4 separate regions of the Homo sapiens genome follow, and regions 1, 2 and 3 are each linked to region 4. Evidence: promoter capture Hi-C in 16 types of primary human blood cells and fetal thymus (Javierre and others, 2016). All regions are on one chromosome and are shown on one strand. Each heading gives the region's core, a stretch centred on a gene start or on the middle of the fragment in contact. The rest is flanking DNA. Distances are from core to core; before and after follow the strand shown. Region 1 overlaps PKD2L1 (polycystin 2 like 1, transient receptor potential cation channel). Region 2 overlaps PKD2L1 (polycystin 2 like 1, transient receptor potential cation channel). Region 3 has its middle 2.6 kb from the start of PKD2L1. Region 4 holds the start of WNT8B (Wnt family member 8B).

Evidence for each region. The method cuts DNA at HindIII sites, captures the fragments that hold promoters and counts their contacts. A CHiCAGO score of 5 or more calls a contact.
Region 1: a contact is called between a fragment that was not itself captured here and the fragment with the promoter of WNT8B in region 4, in 2 of 17 cell types (endothelial precursors and M1 macrophages). The highest score is 5.7, in endothelial precursors.
Region 2: a fragment that was not itself captured here is called in contact with the fragment with the promoter of WNT8B in region 4 in 4 of 17 cell types (total CD8 T cells, activated CD4 T cells, total CD4 T cells and 1 more); the score reaches 6.1 in total CD8 T cells.
Region 3: a contact is called between a fragment that was not itself captured here and the fragment with the promoter of WNT8B in region 4, in 6 of 17 cell types (total CD8 T cells, naive CD8 T cells, activated CD4 T cells and 3 more). The highest score is 7.3, in total CD8 T cells.

The regions. Positions count from the first base shown.
Region 1 is chr10:100,296,044-100,298,743 of GRCh38, reverse strand. PKD2L1 (polycystin 2 like 1, transient receptor potential cation channel) reads left to right here. Exons shown (of 16, transcript NM_016112.3): 4 at 1-182; 5 at 1,138-1,362; 6 at 1,536-1,764; 7 at 2,452-2,622. Among named protein-coding and RNA genes, the nearest start is that of BLOC1S2, 11 kb to the right of the region's middle. The HindIII fragment of the contact is 1,682 bases long and covers 474-2,155 here.
Region 2 is chr10:100,312,229-100,314,928 of GRCh38, reverse strand. All of the region lies in intron 2 of PKD2L1 (polycystin 2 like 1, transient receptor potential cation channel), which reads left to right. Among named protein-coding and RNA genes, the nearest start is that of PKD2L1, 17 kb to the left of the region's middle. The HindIII fragment of the contact is 2,321 bases long and covers 234-2,554 here.
Region 3 is chr10:100,331,437-100,334,136 of GRCh38, reverse strand. No RefSeq gene overlaps it. Among named protein-coding and RNA genes, the nearest start is that of PKD2L1, 2.6 kb to the right of the region's middle. The HindIII fragment of the contact is 661 bases long and covers 1,085-1,745 here.
Region 4 is chr10:100,461,705-100,464,404 of GRCh38, reverse strand. It overlaps WNT8B (Wnt family member 8B), which reads right to left and starts at 1,396. Exons shown (of 6, transcript NM_003393.4): 1 at 1,169-1,396. The coding sequence starts at 1,236. The HindIII fragment of the contact is 5,936 bases long and covers 239-2,700 here.

The DNA of each region.
Region 1 (2,700 bases), core at 65-2,564, 170 kb after region 4:
TCCCACTCCTTCATCTACTATGAGAACATGCTGCTGGGGGTTCCGAGGCTGCGGCAGCTAAAGGTCCGCAATGACTCCTGTGTGGTGCATGAAGACTTCCGGGAGGACATTCTGAGCTGCTATGATGTCTACTCTCCAGACAAAGAAGAACAACTCCCCTTTGGGCCCTTCAATGGCACAGCGTGAGTGAGCCTGTCCTACCAATATCACAGGGCTTGCCCCTCTAAACCTGACACCATCCCAAGGTCTGGGAACCACTTCCACTGAGGCTTAAAGAGCCTCAGAGCTCTTTAAGGGACTTCTGGGGGCATCTCCCTGAATCCCAGCTGTGACTGTTTGGGGACCTTGGTCTGTGTCACTCAGGAACAGAGGAGGTAGGTTAGCAAACACAGCAATAGCCTCCAGACTTGTTCCCACAGACAGGTTGCAATCACACTTGTCCTACCTTGCACGTAGTCCTTCCAGGGAAAGCTTCCTTTCTTGCCTAGAAGTTGGTTAGGGGTATACAAAATGGGTGAAATTGAAGAACCCAACCCTTGAGATTGATACGTGGAGCAGCAAGGGGTCAAGGATGGATGACAAATTAGGGAGGAAGGGGGAAAGGGTGGACAGGACAGAAGAGGGAGGAAATAAGCACCCAGGGTAGAAAGTTTAGTGGATAGAATGGAGAAACATGGGGTGAAGGAGCCTGATGTGCAATCACAGAGCTGGAGGATCTTTTCCTCCTGGTCCAGGTGCTTCCCTTAGGGGGACTATTCAAGGTGGGCCAAAAGTGGGGCTTGGCTTTGTCATCCAAATCTTTGAGTGACATAGTGAAAAATCAGATTTACATTTGAGTTTCAGTTCTGTCATTTATAGCTGGATTATCTCGGTAACCTCTTTCATAGTTTCCTCTTCTGCAAAATGTGGATAATATTCACTCTCCCTTCTCAAATGGTTGTTAGTATCAAACAGAATAATAAATGATACATTATATATGTATATATCACATATCTCATACACACACACACACACACACACACACACACACACACACACACAATATGTAAACCTGTAAAGCCCAGACAATGATAAAGCATTGCCATTGCCTTGGGAGATGAACTTTTGGGCTGGCTCAGCTGGCATTTTCTGTGGCAGGTGGACATACCACTCGCAGGATGAGTTGGGGGGCTTCTCCCACTGGGGCAGGCTCACAAGCTACAGCGGAGGTGGCTACTACCTGGACCTTCCAGGATCCCGACAGGGTAGTGCAGAGGCTCTCCGGGCCCTTCAGGAGGGGCTGTGGCTGGACAGGGGCACTCGAGTGGTGTTCATCGACTTCTCAGTCTACAATGCCAATATCAATCTTTTCTGTGTCCTGAGGTGAGCCCCCTTTCCCTACTTTATCACCCTGTCCATGGCTCCTGGTTCCCGTCTCTTGTGCATGAGACCCTTCCCTAAACTCCTACCCTGTGGTGGGGGTGGAGAGGAGAGGAAGTGGGAGGAGCCGTCCCAGCGAAGGCTCCACTGGAGGTCATCTCCCCCTCCCCCTATAGGCTGGTGGTGGAGTTTCCAGCTACAGGAGGTGCCATCCCATCCTGGCAAATCCGCACAGTCAAGCTGATCCGCTATGTCAGCAACTGGGACTTCTTTATCGTTGGCTGTGAGGTCATCTTCTGCGTCTTCATCTTCTACTATGTGGTGGAAGAGATCCTGGAGCTCCACATTCACCGGCTTCGCTACCTCAGCAGCATCTGGAACATACTGGACCTGGTGGTCATCTTGGTGAGGGACAGATATCTAGGACTTGGGACATTCTGGGGTGAGGAGGGAGTTCCACCCTAATAGGGGCTCCAGGTTCTTCCTTTTGGAGCCCTAAGCCCTCCTTCTGACTTTTGGTCAAATCATCATTTAACAGCTCCCTAAGTGAGAGGGACATGTTCCCCTCTCTCAGCCCTTGGGAAACCCTGTCTCTCACATCTCCTCTCCTCCTCACCTGTCATCTGAGCCCTGTGTTTTTTTTTTTTAGTGTACTATATTCTGCTCCTCTCTTGTCTTTTGTCTTTATGACCTGTTCTGTGGAAACCCATGCCTTTTGTCTTCTATTCAAATATTCTGCCCCTTCATCTTCATCTCCCTCCTATTAACAAGACACATTCAATTCCTGACCAAAGCTTGGAAGTGGTGGGAGCGGAAGGAAATGACTGGTTCCAGTTCCCTACAGCCCTTTACAATCTATACATTAATATTTACCATTGTCCCCAATGCCTTCTCTTGGGCTTTGGAACACTTAAGATGCTCCCCAGTCATCCTACCAAGTTCCATTTGAAACTGAGATAGTGAACAAGTCAGCAAGGATGGCTTTTTTCCCACCTGTCTTACCTACCCTGACTCTCCCTTGGGGCCTCATCTTGGAACTTCCCTTGAGATCCCCTTGCCTTCTCTGACACCCCCATGACCCCTGTGTGACAGCTCTCCATTGTGGCTGTGGGCTTCCACATATTCCGAACCCTCGAGGTGAATCGGCTCATGGGGAAGCTCCTGCAGCAGCCAAACACGTATGCAGACTTTGAGTTCCTCGCCTTCTGGCAGACACAGTACAACAACATGAATGCTGTCAACCTCTTCTTCGCCTGGATCAAGGTACCTGGGATTCCCACACCCAGCTTTGCTTCAAGGCGCACTCATTCTCCCTTCTTTTCTTTTCTTTTTTTTCTTTTT
Region 2 (2,700 bases), core at 145-2,644, 150 kb after region 4:
GGAGTAGCTGAGACTACAGGCTCACACCAACACGCCTGGCTAATTTTTGTATTTTTAGTAGAGATGGGGTTTCACCATGTTGGCCAGGCTGGTCTTGAACTCCTGACCTTGGGTGATCCCCACCCACCTCAGCCTCCCAAAGTGCTGGGATTACAGGCTAGCCAGCGCACCCGGCCCATTTCAATTGTTTTCTAGACATATATAAATATACATGAATTTTAGATAAAGAAGCTTCTGTTGGTTTACACTAGAAGGATGTGTAAAGTCAACAGCAATGCCGTCTGTGAGGTGGAACGTCCGCTGATTGTGATAAATGTAGTATAGGAGGCTCCCCTAAAGTGCTGATGGCTAATGGCAATAAAGTCAGTGAAGGAGGATCTCTGGATGCACTTTGTGAAAGATAAATCACACTGCAGAGAAGCCCAGGATCAGAAACAGTGCTTCTTGCTGGATACTTCTCGGTCCTGGACTGGCTGTCCCCGTGCCTGCTTCCTTCTCTCTCTTCTCTCTCCCCAGGCACTGGTCTGTTTTGCTTTCTTCTCGCCTACCTCTGCCCACAGCTTTTGACTCCTCTTCTTTTCTCCCTGGTCCTTTGTCTCACAGGCTTTTCCATGTCTTCCTGTTCTGGGTACAAGCCTATGGCTTCTTGAGATTTTTTTTTAAAGGGCTCTCCCTGCTGGGAACTCCAGGGAATCATATTTTCCACTTTTGGTTCTTGAACCCCAGGAAAAGTTTGATAAAGGTGTTTCAGGAATTTCATACCCTTCCAAGTGGTGATAACATAGTTTCTGTTTAAATTATTTGCAGGCAAGTCATGGTGGTTCACGCCTGTAATCCCAGCAGTCTGTGGGAGGATTGCTTGTGTCCAGGAGTTTAAGACCAGCCTGGGCAACCTAGCAAAGCCCCATCTCTATTACTAAAATGAAAAAATTACCTACAAATAAATTGTTTATAAATCAAGCAACTATTAATTACTTAAATATGATTTCCCTTTATATGGAACCATTTGAGAGCCTCCTGTTGTGTACTGAGAGAGAAAGCCCTTGGTAAAGAAGGTGATGTATCTCTCTGGGGTGACCAAATCTGTCTGCGTAAAGTCTTCTTGGATGGCCTTTATTTTGCAACACTTCATGAAACAATGATGAATTATTGATTGGTTATTGAACCAATGCCAGTAATCAATTCTCTCTGGAGTTAAAGGGTCTATTGAGGGTAGATAGATATAACTCAAATAAATGAAAACTGTTTGCACTCCTCAAAATGTTGAGGGTAGACCCAGTAACTCCAGAGAGAATCGATTATTGGCATTGGATGAACATATGGTTCGGTCATGGTGTTGATTATCCTGTAATCCTCACAGAATCTTATTGATCCAGGTAGCTTATACTGCACAATTACAGGTAAAAGCCAGGACTTCTGTATAGTAAAATCACTAATTACCAACTCTATTAACTTAGTTACCGCTCCCTTATCATTTGTTAAGACAGTGCATGAAACTGGCAATCCAATTGGGGTGACCCCTTGTGTATGTAATCACTAGGTTTTTCCTGCCTGGTTTCCTGTCTTTTCTGGGTCCATATGTTCAAAGACTCCAGCTTGGGCACCTTTTAACAAGGGCTACTCTTCTCAGGCTTCCTTGGTTTCTAGCACTAAATACATTTTTTTGGTTCAGCTAGATTTAGGCAGCAAAAAGTCTCCGGGTCTCAGCACTAGTATACTCTTTGTAGCTTTAGTTTTTCCAAAATGACCAGTCTCTGGGAGATCTTGAGCAAAATAGCTCAAAGAAGGACAGTAAGAGCAAGTGCAACTCTTCCTCTGTAACCTTCTACAGGAGCGTGTGGAATCACCGCTGCCTCATCAGCCAGAAAAATCCCTGTACAAAGACAGGACTTTTACGTTTTACTACAGTTGGTGTCTTCAGCTCTTTTGAAACAGTGTGCCCTCCTTCGCAGAGACCATAGCTGCAGAAATGTTACCTTATCTCTTATGACATTAACTGAAGTTCATGCTATGTCTCGAGGTTTCTGGGCCACACAGAAGCAATGCTATCTAGGGGGCCGTATTTTTCCAGGATGACTCTAGAGAAGAAGACTCTTCATCTTCCTCAGGACTGTTGACTTCCTGGTTTGATTGCTGTCTTCGTAAACTCTTTATGCAATTCTGAAACCACATGAGAATTTACAAGCCATCAGCTAAAGCCATACTGAATCCATAAGAATCAATTGCTTTGCTCTCCCTGGATTCTGCATTCAGAATGGAATAGAACAGGGAAGTTCCAGCAGCCTCCTTGTTTGATTGCCTTATGCCCTGTCCTCTACTCCTATCTCCAGTCTTCTAGGTATCTGATTTCAGTATTCCATCCGCTGAGAGACTCTATTATATTGATTCAGCATGGACAAGTATCTATAGGTCTATTCTTCCAGCTGGGCTAAGATCTCAGAGCTACTAGAAACTTCAGGGGGATCACTAACAGGATCTTGGATTCATTTCCATTTTTCCAGAATAATCATCATCAGTCTGTTTGTTTTTCCTTCAACAGCAACTCATAAAAGCTTTTGGCTCTGAATCTAATTTCCCAAGAAGAAACTGGCCATGTGTCATAGGTTCTCTAGAACCAGAATCTTCTGAACCTAAGCCCTAAAAAGCTTAATAATGCTCATAGACTTCGTTACTGAAGCAGATGTGAGTGAATCTAGTTCT
Region 3 (2,700 bases), core at 166-2,665, 130 kb after region 4:
ATAATCCCCTAAAGAGCACCTTCACAATCCCTCTCCTTCTTTGGGGCTTATGCCTTCAACTATCTGCACATGGCTGTCAGGACCCCATCCCACACACATGCATCTGCACATGGCTGTCAGGACCCCATCCCACACACATGCACCTGCACTCCTTAGCTCTTCAGCCAGGCCTACCCACATACAGTTCTTTTCATCTTTCCTCATACATCAAAACCTCAAGTGAATTGGAAGCGGGATTATGGCTCTCTTCTCAAGATTTTCTCACGTCAGCTGCATCCCTTCTCCTCAACCACATGCCAGGTTTGTGTATGCCAATAGCCATTCACCAATGGAAATGAGGTTTTTCTGGAATGCTGTGTTCTATAGTTAAAAAAAAAAAAGATTCCTCCTACCCATAGCTTATATCTAGGTTGGATCAATATTTATACAAACTATAATAAGGAGGAAAAATCTAAAAGAAGTCTGGGACTACCTTAAATCTCCAACCCCCCAAGAAACATTTAAACTACAAATAAAAATCTCAAAATAATATATTTCCCTTAAACATAGGCTATGAATTAATAAAATAAATTCAATCACCTTTTGGTAAAGGAAGCATGAAAAGATTGACTACTCATTTCTTTATGGATGAAAAATTAGCATGGATGAGTGCCCCAAATGAAAAAGAACCCTTCCTTTTCTTCTTATTTTGTCATTTCCTTCCCACTGACTTGGTCAGAAGCCACCTCCTTTTGTTCTTCAACCACTCTGAATAGCTGGTAGTTTCCATGGTCTCTGAAGGGATTCACGCACACCACAGTTCTCGGCGGCAATAGGGACCACCAGAGGTCCTCACCCTCGTTATGCAACCTCAGGCCTTCCCCCTCCTCTGTTTTCTCCCAACTGCACTAAGGGCCAGTCTTCTACAACCCTAGGGGCATCACAGACATCTTCAGAGCCCCAAGACCCCACCTATCATTCCTATGCTTAGAAGGAACCTCTTCTTTTCCAAACCTTCCCATCCAAACCTGATGGGGCTCTTCCTTCCCAAACCTCGCCCATCCATCAAGATCTAGCTTCTGTTTCATTTCCTCCAGAGGAAGCTTCCTTTTCCCCTAAACTTCATAATGTTTAGTGTCTATACCATTAAAATAGGCTACCTCACATTATTCATGCCTCCATTTGCTGCTGCTGCTTTTTTTTTTTTTTTTTTTTGAAACAAGCTCTTTCTCTGTCACCAAGGCTGGAGTGCAATGGCATGAACACGGCTCACTGCAGCCCTGACCTCCCGGGCTCAAGCAATCCTCCTGCCTCAGCCTCCTGTGTATTTGGGATCACAGACATGCATTACCATGCCCAGCTAATTTTTTGATTTTTTTGTAGAGACAGGGTCTCACTTTGTTGCCCAGGCTGGTCTTGAACTCCTAGTCTCAAGCTCGGCCTCCCAAAGTGCTGATGTTAGCCACTGTGCCTGGCCCATTTGCTCCATTTTTTAAAGTTTTATTTTATTTTTAATTGATAAATAATAATTCTATATACTTATGAGGTACAATGTGACATTTTGATACATGTATACATTGTGGAGTGATCAAATCAGGTGAATTAGCATATTCATTACTTCAAATATTTATCATTTCTTTGTAGTAAGAACTTTTTAAATCCTCTCTGTTAGCTATTTTGAAGTACACAGTACCTCATTATCAACTGTAGTCACCACACTGTGCAACAGAACAACAGAACATATTTCTCTTGCCTGATTGAAAGCTTTTATCCATCGACCACTCTCTTCCCCTCTCACACACCCCTCACCCCCAGCCTCTGGTAACCACCATTCTACTCTCTACTTCTACGAGTTCAATTTTTTTAGTTTCCACATATAAGTGAGAGCATAGGGCATCTGTCTCATTATGCCTGGCTTATTTCACTTAACATAATGTTCTCTAGGTTTATCTATGTTGTCGTAAATGACAGAATTTTCTGTGTTTTTTTTTTCAAGGCTGAATATATTATATTGTGCATATATACCACATCTTTTAAATCCTTTCGTCAGTTGATGGATACTTAGATTGTTTCCATATCTTGGCTATTATTAATAATCCTGCAATGAACATGGGAGAGGAGACATCTATTCAACACACTGATTTCAATTCCTTTGAGATTCTTGGAACATATGGTAATTCTATTTTTAGTTTTTTGAGGAACCTCCATACTGTTTTCCAAGATGTCCGTACTAATTTACAATACAGCCAAGCATACAAGGGGCCCCTTTTCTCCACAGCCTTGCCAACACTTGTTATCTTTCTTTCTTTCTTTTTTCTTGAGACAGGGTCTTGCTCTGTTGCTCAGGCTGGAGTGCAGTGGTGTGATTTCAGCTGACTGCAGCCTCAACGCCTCAGCCTCCCCAGCTCAAGTGGTTCTCCCACCCCAGCCACCTGAGTAGCAGCTGGGACTACATGCACGCACCCCATGCCTGGCTAATTTTTGTTGTTTTGTTGTTGTTTTGTAGAGGCGGTGTTTCACCATGTTGCCCGGGCTGGTCTTGAACTCCTGAGCTCAAGTGATCCTCCTGCCCTGGCCTCCCAAAGTGCTGGAATTACAGGTGTGGGCAACCACACCCAGCCAAGATCTCTTTATAGGGACACTCAAGACTGATTATTTTGACAAGGCTGATGTTTTGCTGAATGTGAAGGTGGGCTTCAGGCCAGTGAGTAGCCCTGGGTG
Region 4 (2,700 bases), core at 147-2,646:
TTTTTGTTCTCATGAGGGGGAGAGAAGAGAGACCTTTTTTTTAACATTGAAATATTTAATTAAAATGCCAATTAAAAATGGACTAATTGGTGGTTCTGCTTATAATCAGAAATGTTGCAAATTATTGTATTAACTTGCAAATAGTTTTATGAAGTTGGCATACTTCCTATCAACACTCCTATAAAGACGGCTACACTCATTTATGATAAAAATGTATTTTCAATTCTCAAAGGAAGCTTATCTCAGCAAAGAAATTTCTTTTCCTGCTTCCTCAACAGTTTATGTAGCAATTGGATTTATATCTTTGTTAAATAGATGGTCAAAATGAGAGCTGATGAAGAGAGAGACTGAGCTCATATCTGAACTGGAGAGAAACTCCGAACACCCTAGCAACCTGCATTCTGTATGTTATTGTGTACTGGTGTATTTGCTAATGAACAGTTGCATGTATAGATAGTTTATGTGGTTTCCAAGAGCTAAATGAGAATGGTGATGATATTCTTTAGCATTTGTGTTTATAATTTACAAAGCACTTTCATATACGTTATCTGATTTTCTGAACAATTTAGAAATATTTGTAAATTGAACAAATTAAATAAATTTCTCGAGACGTTTAGATTTCTAAAATATCTGGTTTCAAACATGTTTGTTAACCCAATGCCTGCTTAGTGGTTCAAATAAAATTTTTTATGTCTAGGAAATGATAATTTGAGCAATTACTTAGAATATCCTGAAAAAAAAAATAAAGTCAGAAAGTACAAAGTAAGATCCCATTGAATTTTGTCTCCAGACTTTACCTCAAGATCAGATTCAACACACGGTAGAACTTGCTTTGAACTACCTTCCTCCTCTCTACAATGCTGACATCAGGATTTCGTGAAAAGGGCTGCTGTCCATTTACCCCCAAATCACTTTGGGGGAATATTTGTGGAATAGCAATTTATAAAAATAGGAACCCCCGCTCCCATCATTTAGTCCTTTATTGGTAGGGGTCCTAAAGATTCACTAAAATCAGCCATAAATTTAGGAAGAGCCCTACCCCATAGAACAGTTTTTCCTAGGAGAGCTATCAAGGCTTCCTACATTTCTGGAAATGAAATGAGCTTTACCCAACACATTACATACACTTACCTATTCCCAGCTCCAGGTAAGAGTCCAGGTTACTTACCAGCTGTGGCTGAGTTGGAGGACACAGGTGAAAAGACAGATGTACACAGAAGGCTTTGAAAGAAACATAATCCTCTGGAGTAACAGCTAGAGAAAATTCCAAAAAACTGGGAGATGGGTAAGCAAGACGGAGAAATATTCTCCTCAGTGCCAGTGGGATGGAATTCTCAAAGCCCAACTTCCTTGGTGTGTAAGCGATCCCAAACAGAGTTAAGGGGAGGTGAAATGGAGCTGCCAAACGTCCAAAGAAGAGATTATCTACTTAATTAAAGTTTTTTTTCCCCTCTAAGTCCTTCAGCCAATCAGAACTCAAGTGCCAGAGAAAGATTGAGTCGATCAAAAGAACACTCCAGGATCCTCCCAGACAAATGCAGAAGAAGGGGACCAGGAGAAAGAGGACAAAGAAAGAAGCGGGGGGAAGAGACATAGCAAATCCCCTCCACATAATCACTGCATGGAGTCTCTTTCCTCCCTCTTGCCTATCCCCTCCCATCACACCACAACCTTTTCCCACCTATGCACACTTACACACACACACACACACACAACACACACACACACACAGCCTGGTCCCCAAAAGGGATCCAGAAAGGACTGTGCTTTCCTGGTTGTCCTCTGTAGCACTTTGAGACTGAATTTGCATTCAGGATAGCATTTTTTTGTTTGTTTTGTTTTTTCAGAAAAAAATACACCAGGTGCAGGTGAACCTCCACCCTCTGATTTGAGAATGTGGGGATGCAGTCCTACCATCTAGTGTATTCTCTGTCTAAGTTAGAAAGGCTAGAAACTTCAGGAAGCCCGATGGTTTTTTCTTCCTTTCAACTTTTTCATCACACAATTACTTACCAAATGCCTATTTTATTCTCAACACCACCCTAGGCATTGTGGAAATTTTTAAAAACCAAAACATGATTTCTGCCCTAACAACATTTACAGCCTAGTAAGGTGACAATAAAATAACGCAGTTTAATAAAGTATTAGAAAGCTACAAACTGCCTATAATAGTGTAGGCTTATTTAGGGGAGGTTTTCTGAAGAAGGTAGAATTTGAGTTTCGAAGAAGGAAAGAGATTTCAATAGGCACACAAAGGTGATCTCAAAATCCCTACTTTCTTAAACTCAGGTGGCGGAGCCAGGAGGGCACCCAGGCCCTCGCTCACACTTCTCTGGGACTCTGCTCCTTCTGTTCCCTAGGGAGGAGGGTGGCCTCAGCCACAGCACTGGGGATCCTCAAAGGGCTCCAGACTGATGTCTATGTAGCCATATAGCCCCATCTTTTAAAAAAAATTTCAGTTAACTTTTGTGGATACATAGTAGGTATATATATTTATGGAGTACATGTACATGAGATATTTTGATACAGGCATACAATGAATGCATGATAATCACATCAGGGTAAATGAGTATCCATCACCTCAAGCATTAATCCTTTGTGTTACAAACAGTCTAATTATACTCTTAGTTACCATGTACAATGAAATTATTATTGACGATAGTCACCCTGTTGTGCTGTTGAATACTAGGTCTTCTTCAT